2 separate regions of the Homo sapiens genome follow, and region 1 is linked to region 2. Evidence: promoter capture Hi-C in 16 types of primary human blood cells and fetal thymus (Javierre and others, 2016). All regions are on one chromosome and are shown on one strand. The core of a region is centred on a gene start or on the middle of the fragment in contact, and the rest is flanking DNA. Distances in the headings are between cores, read along the strand shown. Region 1 overlaps AHDC1 (AT-hook DNA binding motif containing 1). Region 2 holds the start of SYTL1 (synaptotagmin like 1).

Region 1 (4,424 bases), core at 1,605-4,104, 220 kb before region 2:
GTGGCACAGAAGCAGTTAAGAGCTGCCTCAGCCTGTTCCTTCAGACAATTAGTGACATCTCGCTTGACAACACCACACTGAGCCGATGCAGACCTCAGCCCCCCTCCCGGCCCCCCGACGGCCGCTTCAGCTGTTTATTCTTGGGCTTTAACAATTGGGATTCTGACTTGGAGGAGCGGGCGCCCCGCGCTGCCCTCTGACCCACCGTCGCCTTGGCAACTGGAGCCCGGTAGGCCTGGGCTCTGCGTTAGGATTACAGATCCTGAATTCACAATCTTGCTGCTTCCCTGCAAGCAGCAGTGGCAGCAAGCAGCAGCATGCAGGATCTTCAGCTAGACTGGAGGGGACAGAGAGGAGGAGGGTCCCCAGGGCCAGCCTGAGGCGCATGCAGGAAGCTGGGATGCCCACAGACGGCCTGGAGAGCAGTGCACCCTCCACAGCCTCCCTAGGATTGGTCAGGGCCTAGAGCCATGCTCCACTCCCAGCATCTCTGTGGCTCTCTGGAAACTTTCTTCCTGGTAGAGCCCCGAGGGCAGGGGCGAGGCTTCTTCCTTACCCTGCCTTTCTGCCTCAGCCCCCTACCATGCCCAGAGCTCCAAGTGCCAGCAGACTGTGCCCCTGCCGTGCCCGCCTCCATGGCAACAGGCCCCCCTCCCTCGACAGCTCTGCTCCTTCTTCCCCCCACCCTAGCAGCCAACTGCCCCAGCTGAAACCAGAGCCGATGCATCTGTGAGCCTCATGCCCAGACCCACATTCCATTTCTGTCCTCTGTCCCCCCCCAGTTCTGGCAATGACATCCCTCCTCCTCCTCCTCCTCCACCCCCCTCCCTCCTCACCTCTGCCTACTGCTGTTCCCCCCACACTCTAACACTTAGTAGTGTCACCCCCTCTTCCCACCCCATCTGAGTGTGTCTCACCCTCCGACTGTCGCTGTGGGGCTCTGGGTGTGTCAGTCCCTCTGTCTGTCTCCAGCTCCCGGGTCGCTGGTGCTCTGTGCCTCCGCCTGTCTGTGCAGACTCCTCAGGTTCCTTCTCCATCTCTTCCCCCCTGTGCGTGTGTCTTTGTCTCTGCATCATCCTGCCTGTCTCTCTCTTTTGTCTTTTTCTTTCTCCTTGTCTCTCTCTCTTCCTGAGTCTCTTTCTTGCTGTTTTCCTTCCTCTGGCATGGTCGCCCTCTCTCTCCCTCTCTGGCTCTCGCCCCCTCCCTCCAGATCTTTTTCTCCTTCTGCCTCTTTCTGCCCTGTTTCTCTTGCCTCAGTGTCCTTCATCTTTCTGTCTCTCTTCCTGGATCTGAATCTCTGCCTTGATTTCTCCCGCCCCCTGTCTTTCTTCTGACTTTGTCCTTCTAAATACATATCTTTCTTTCAGAGCTGGGCCTTTCAGTTCTCCTTACTCTATTTCCTACCAGGTTGTTTCCTTCCCAGGCCTATGAAGATTGGGGAGCTGGTGCAGGGGGCAGGGCTCCAGAGTCACCCCAAAGGATCCCTCTTTTTAGTAGGGGCCAGATGTCCTGGAAGCCCCACTGGGCTTATGTGGTTGAACCTGAAATGGAGGGTGCAAGGTTGAAGAGCCTACAGAGAGTGTGGCACCAGGAAACAAGAGTGTGAGTCTGCCTTTCCAGGGTTTTAGGGGATGGGCTCCATCCATCTAGTCTACCTTCCACTAGCCCAGGGTAGGAACAGAAGATAGTTCCAGGAGCTAAACTGGCCCAAGAAGCTCTCTAGAGAACAGGCCTCACTGATTCTTGGGATTTGTCCCTTCCCTTGCTAAAATGATGGCAAGTTCAGACTGTGCCTCAGTTTCCCCAGATGGTATAGGGATACTATCCTTGCTTCATGTCTGACTTCTTTAAAGTGCTTTGAGTTCCTGGAACAAACTCAAAGTTATGAGGAACAAGGAAAGACTAGAGTGACTCCCGCCCCTTGCTCACCAGCGCCGGGGGACACCAGACAGAATGTTTGTCCAGGGCATGGGTGGAATCAGGGTCCTGTCTCCTTAAGGGTTGGGTGGAGGACAGTGCCTCGCCTCCCTTCAAGACTGGCAGCCCCTGCTGTCTGGCCCGCCCTCCCAGTCTGGGCAGTGGCCTCTGTCCTTCCTCTCTCGCCCCTCTTCATGGAATGAGCTTGGAGTCGTGGGCAAACAGGCCCTGGGGTAGGGGAGTCAGGCCTCACCTCTGGGTGTGGTGAGGCCTGGTCAGGCAGACCGTTCTAGGATCCTGGGGTCTGGGCACTACTCACCAAGGGGCCAGGCGGGGGAGTAGGGGTGCCTGGGGGAGGCAGGTTGCACGCAAGGCATGCTGGGCCCCCTCGGCGGGTGGGTGGGGGGAACAAAGCTGGCATCGAGGCCTCAGCTAAAATTAGCCGCTTCCCTGCGCGGGAGCGAGCATGCCTGCCAGCCGCCCAGATCGCCGCTGCCTCGGCAGGCCATCTGTCGCCACGCTTTACTCAGTCCCCCAGGGCCCCCCAGCTCCAGCCACCCCCAGGGGCTAGGGGGACTCTGCTCTGAGGCTGTCCGTGGCCAGGACTCTAGGCTCTTGTGCTGTCGTGCTGTGTGACCTCAGGCTAGGCCTTTCCCTCTCTGGGCTCCTGTAAAACGAGGGGCCCTAGACACTGACATCTCAGGTCCTCTAGTCCTTCCAAGCACCAGGTGCTGCTGCTGGTCATGATGGGGTGGGAGGTGGGGTGCCTCCCTCCCCTTAGAGCCACTCCTCTTGTCCAAGCTTTGGGCCAAGTGGGGTTTAGGGTAAAGGTAGGGCATGGTGGACTCCTATCAGATTCATTGGTCTTCATCGGGCGGCAGGGAGGCACTGCATCCAACAACACCCCAACATCTCCCCTGTCCCCCTCCACACTTGACCTCCAAGCAGTCTTAAAGAAACAGCTCCAGGTGGGGAGCCAGGAGATGGAGGCTGAGTTCAGCTGATCCTAATTTGCTCTGTGGCTTGGGCAAGTCTCTTAGTCTATTTCTCCCTCTCTTCAATCAGAAGCTTCCCATTTCTTGAGGAGCGGCCCACTTTATGCTACCTTGTCTCATGAGGCTGGCACTCTTGTCCCTTTTGTACAGATGAGGAAGATGAGGTTCCTTGTGAGGAAGCAGGGGAGCAGGGGAGGCGGGCTGGAGCCCTCTGTGGCCTGAAGTTCTGCCTGCTGGTCTCCAGCTTCAGCTTCTTCTTTCTGACCCTGGCACTTCTCTCACTGCGGCCCCTTCCCCCCTCCCCGAAGCCAAAGAGGCTGAGCTGCTGCTCCAAGGTCACCCAGCTTGGCCCTGGAGGAGCTCAGACTGGAACCCAGGCCTCTTGGCTCTTGGCCTCCCTCACCACTATGGCCAGCAGGCTGGGCCTGTTCCCTGGGTGAGTCATGTTCCTGGACTTTGGCCTCCTTGTCCCCAGCTCTGTGGCCTGAAGTTTGGAGAGGGGGCCTTTGTAAGGAAGAAGGGCTCCCCTGGAAGCTATGGGGGTCTCAAGCCATTATCCCATACTCTTCCCACTGAGCACATGGTGATAGCAACCCCTAACCGCCCTACTCCCCACTGATCTCTAAGCAGTCTCATAGTAACAGCGCCTCAGGACAGCCCTCCCTCCACCACTCATTCAGCCCCCTCCCTAGATACACAACTACAGTGAATAAGAAATGGAGTGGAGTGAGGGCTGGGGGAGGTGGCATTTCCAGGTAGTCAGTGTGTCCAGGCAGCTTCCTCCCCAGCACTCCTCTCCCCCAGCACCCGCCACTGGGCGGGAAGCCACAGCACCTCCCCTCCTGGTGTCCAGAGGCCAAGGTCACACCAGAGCCCTGTGTGCCTTCACCTCCTCTGGGGCCAGTGGTGTTTGTCACTGGGGCAATGTGTGGCTGTGCCCGGCTCTGGCAGTGCTGGGGTGACATTCATGCCGTGTGAGCTGTGACGCCTCTGCAGGCAGAGGGACGGCACCACCCAGGCTGGTGACAGTGATGGGGGAGGGGTGAGGTGGGCTGTCACCTGTCCAAGGCAGCCGGGGAGGTGACATGTTGTGTACCCATCCCACAGTCTGCAGGGAGGATTCCCAGGCAGGGGCGAGGTTATGTCCCTGCCTCATGCTGTGTGGTGGGTGGAGGGGTCCATGCCTTCCTCACACCTGGAAGATGGGACTTGTCCCACGTGTGTGTGTGTGTGTGTGTGTGTCTTGGTCAGCTGTGTGACAGGTTCTGTGTGTGTGTGCATGTGTGTGTGTCTTGGTCAACTATGTGACAGGTTCTTTGTGTGGGTGTGTGCATGCATGCGTGCGTGTGTGTGTGTCTTGGTCAGCTGTGTGACAGGTTCTGTGTGTGTGTGCATGTGTGTGTGTCTTGGTCAACTATGTGACAGGTTCTTTGTGTGGGTGTGTGCATGCATGCGTGCGTGCGTGTGTGTGTGTCTTGGTCAGCTGTGTAACAGGTTCTCTGTGCATTAGTG
Region 2 (3,990 bases), core at 1-2,500:
ACAGTGACTCCGGAAAGAAAGCATTTGCCCAGCGCTGAGGGGCATGTAGACGTGGCAAGGGGCCCATGACTTGGTCAGGGCTGTGTCCTGAGCCCACTGGGCGGCCTCTCCTCTCTTCCCCGCCCCTTCCATTGCCACGGCTCCAGGTGGGGCTGAGACCGGCGGAGGCAGCTTGGCGGGCAGGTCCTGGCTTGTGTCCGCCGCCTGCTATGCTCTGTCCCCTCCCAGCTGAGTCAGTGGCCGAGCCCCAGCGATCCCTCTTGACACCCTCAGGAGCAGAAGGCCTCAGCACGGCTGCACGGTGTGCATTCACTCTGTGGATACCTGTGTGCTCCACAACAGCAGTTTCCCTGGACTTCTGTGGCCAACGTGTGAGCCCACGTTCGGCCTCCCCTGTGGATTGGGGTGTGAGCCCACGTTCGGCCTCCCCTGTGGATTGGGGTGTGAGCCCACGTCCCTCTCTGTGCCCTGTTGTGTGGCTGTGTGGGTCCGAGTCTGGTGGGCATGTCTGCGTTGCGTGAGTCTGTGAGCTGTGTAGTTGCTGTGTGTCTTTGTGTCCTGTTGCAGTGTGATGCTGCATGGTGACTATATTGTCTGTGTGGTGTGTTCAGTGACTTTCTAGGTGACAGCGCCGTGTGGGGTGTGTACAGTATGCATTGTGCATTTCCTCCTGTGCTGTATGTGTGACTGGGCTGTGTGCTGTGGGGTGTCCCCTGGTGCCTTGGGGGCCACCAGGTGTGTGTGTCTGAGTGTGGATGGAGGCCGGGGGGACGTTCGGCAGAACTGAGCCTATTTCTGTCCTTCAGGCCTGCCTGAGCTGGGCCATGGGCATCAGCCCAGCGTCCTCAGCAGTGCCCCCTCCCTGAAGTCCCCTCTCCTACCAACCAGAGGCAGAATCTCCTACCAGAGTTAGGTAGGAGTTTGGTCTTCTCTGCTGTTTTGACACGGTGGGACAGACCCATTGGTCAAGAGGAGGGTCTGTCCATCTGTCCAGCTGTTCCAGTTCCAGACATGTGCCCACCTCCCCCAACCCCAAGGTGCTGGAGGGTGCTCAGGATACCAGGTGGCAGTGCCTGCGTCTCTGGACCCTGGCAGGGGACCCTGGCACCGACACGTGTTACCTGTAGGGGTCCAGTATGGGAGGACACCTTCGCAGGTGGCTCCAGCTCCCCTGGCAGCCGAGTTTCAGGGACCGGGAGAAGAGCCGTGAGGGAAGAAGGCTGACTCAACAGGCAGCCCAGCCAGCAGCTGCCCCACACGGAGGAGGAGGAAACACCTCGGCAGGGCCTGATGCAAAACCGGGCCTGGACTCCCAGCGCCCGGGGGTGCGCCCCCGCAGCCGACTGGAGAGGCCCAGCTTGGCCCCAGCTCCACTGAGCAGGCCCTCTAGAACGGGTAGCAGCCCCACCTTGCCCACAACGGGGCTGATAGGAACTCGCTTTGAAAGCAAGTTAGAAACCTTTCTTTTCCAGCCCCAAGGGGAATGGCAGGATGGCAGACTTTGCAGTTAGACCACCCTGTGCAGAGTCCCTGCTCTGCCAGTGGGTGTGTGATGTGACCTTAAGCAGGTCTCTTCCATTTCTTCTGATGCAAACTGTGGGTAGCAGAGTGCAAGGAGCCTATACTAAGGGAAGTGAAAGTGCCCGGTGCGAGCTGGCATAGTCGGGGTGAGGTGTCCCCACTCCAGCATAGCCTAATGCCCACGGCCATCTCAGCAGCTGCTGCCCTCTATATCCACATGCACTTCTGGGACATGCTGGCAGAGCAGCCCTCTCTGTCCCCTCTGCTGTCCTGAGCCCCATCTGTTTGAGGAGGCCTGAACTCTTCTAGTGCCAAGGTGAGGGTCCCACACCCTCTGTCTATGTGGAGCCCCCCTGAACTCACCCCATTCTACACCTAGATTCTGCCCACCCTGAGATTAGAAGGTTTGGGCCCTAGATTACATTGGCTTCAGGACCATGAACCTCCTGGGTTGTCTTGGGCACAAGAGGCCACACCAAAGCTTTCTGACTCCCCCCAAGTCCACTTCACTTCCCATGGCCTGCCCTGGCCCAACCCCCTCCCCTGAACCTAGGGCCATGGATTAAAGATTAGTGGGCTCCTCATAGACCCCTGGGAGAGGCAGGACAAGGGGTGGATTCTAAACAAAACCAGTCTGGGCACAGTGACTCATGCCTGTAATCCCAGTACTTTAAGAGGTCGAGGTGGGCGGATCACTCTAGGACAGGAGTTTGAGACCAGTCTGGCTAATATAGTGAAACCCCGTCTCTACTCAAAATACAAAAATTAACCGGGCATGGTGGCAGGTGCTTGCAGTCCCAGTTACTCGGGAGGCCGAGGCAGGAGAATCGCTTGAACCCAGGAGGCGGAGGTTGCAGTGAGCCGAGATCGCACCACTGCACTCCAGCCTGGGCAACACAGCGAGACTCCGTCTCAGAAAAGCAAACAAGGCTGGGCGTGGTAGCTTACACCTGTAATCCCAGCACTTTGGGAGGCCGAGACGGGTGGATCACGAGGTCAGGAGATCAAGACCATCCTGGCTAACACGGTGAAAACCCATCTCTACTAAAAATACAAAAAAAATTAGCTGGGCGTGGTGGCGGCTGCCTGTAGTCCCAGCTATTTCCCGAGTAGCTGAGGCAGGAGAATGGCATGAACCTGGGAGGTGGAGCTTGCAGTGAGCCGAGATCGCACCACTGCACTCCAGCCTGGGCGACAGAGCGAGACTCCGTCACAAAAAAAAAAAGAAAAGAAAAGAAAAGAAAACTAAACACCCACTCTTCCTTCCTGTAATCAGAACCGACTCCCACCACCACTGAGAGACAGAGGACCCTCCTCCACCTCAGAACCACAGTGGAGGCTTCCCTACTTATTTTTTGCAAATTAATCTTATTTTTCTCATCTGTTAAATGGGGGTAATCTCTCCTTAGAGGGTTTTCACTAAAATTCAGTGAGATCCTTGCAGACTTTTTTTTTTCTTTTTTTTAGATGGAGTCTTGCTCTGTCGCCCAGGCTGGCTTGGCTCACTGCAGCCTCCGCCTCCTGGGTTCAAGTGATTCTCATGCCTCAGCCTCCCGAGTAGCTGGCACTACAGGCGCCCGCCACCACGCCTGGCTAATTTTTGTATTTTGAGTAGAGATGGGGTTTCACCATGTTGGACAGGCTGGGCTCGAACTCCTGGTCTCATGTGATCTGCCTGCCTCAGCCTCCCAAAGTGCTAGGACTACAGGCGTGAGCCACCTTGCCCAGACCCCAGTACTCTTGATTAATGCATTTATGCACCCACACATGCAATACCCATGGAGCAGCTGCTGTGGGACCATTACTGTGATGCTGCCTCCTTCATTAAGGCCCTCAAAATGGAAGGAGAGTGGCCAAGAACATCCACACCCCTTCCTGCCATCCTGGTCCTGGCGCCCCCAAGGATGTTTCTCTGCCCTCCTCTCACCTCCTTAGCAGCTCTTCCTCCTGGAAGGCATGAAACTTCATTATCTGGTCTTCGGGTTTCTAAATTTCCCTTCCTTTCTCTGCTCTCCTGTCCTTCCTATAGCTGTGACTCCCTGACGCTGATACTTCCAGCCATCTCTCCTGCTGTGTCTCAACCTGCATTCCTCTGGCCTCTTCCCCACTTGAAACCTATTTCCAAGTTTCCACCTCTGTAACCAGCCCCCATCATCCTGGCCCCTGGCCTCCTGCTGCTTCCTGCCACCTCCAGATGCTGTCCACACTTCACTCCAGGTGCCCTCCCATCTGTGTGTCTCTGCTGTCCTCCCCCTGCCCAGGTCTCAGTCCCCGCTCAGCCTCTTCTGGAAGCCTCCTCTTCTCCTGCCTCCTTGCGGCCACACAAGGCCACTCTGGCCCTATGTTGCACAACTTTCAAACGTACTTTTCTTTGTCATCCTCTGGTTTGGAAGGTGCCAGCAGACAGCCAGGCCATCCCTCGGGCCCATTCATACATTTCTAAACCAGTCCAGTCCCCTTTAGACACGT

Evidence for each region. Contacts are between HindIII fragments. The CHiCAGO score rates a contact against its expected background, and 5 or more counts as called.
Region 1: a fragment that was not itself captured here is called in contact with the fragment with the promoter of SYTL1 in region 2 in 1 of 17 cell types (M1 macrophages); the score reaches 5.1 in M1 macrophages.

What each region holds. Positions count from the first base shown.
Region 1 is chr1:27,563,075-27,567,498 of GRCh38, reverse strand. All of the region lies in intron 3 of AHDC1 (AT-hook DNA binding motif containing 1), which reads left to right. Among named protein-coding and RNA genes, the nearest start is that of AHDC1, 39 kb to the left of the region's middle. RefSeq lists an enhancer at 3,898-4,424. The HindIII fragment of the contact is 267 bases long and covers 2,721-2,987 here.
Region 2 is chr1:27,339,282-27,343,271 of GRCh38, reverse strand. It overlaps SYTL1 (synaptotagmin like 1), which reads right to left and starts at 1,250. Exons shown (of 15, transcript NM_001193308.2): 1 at 1,122-1,250. RefSeq lists enhancers at 1-615, 790-839, 1,370-1,629. The HindIII fragment of the contact is 10,600 bases long and covers 1-2,004 here.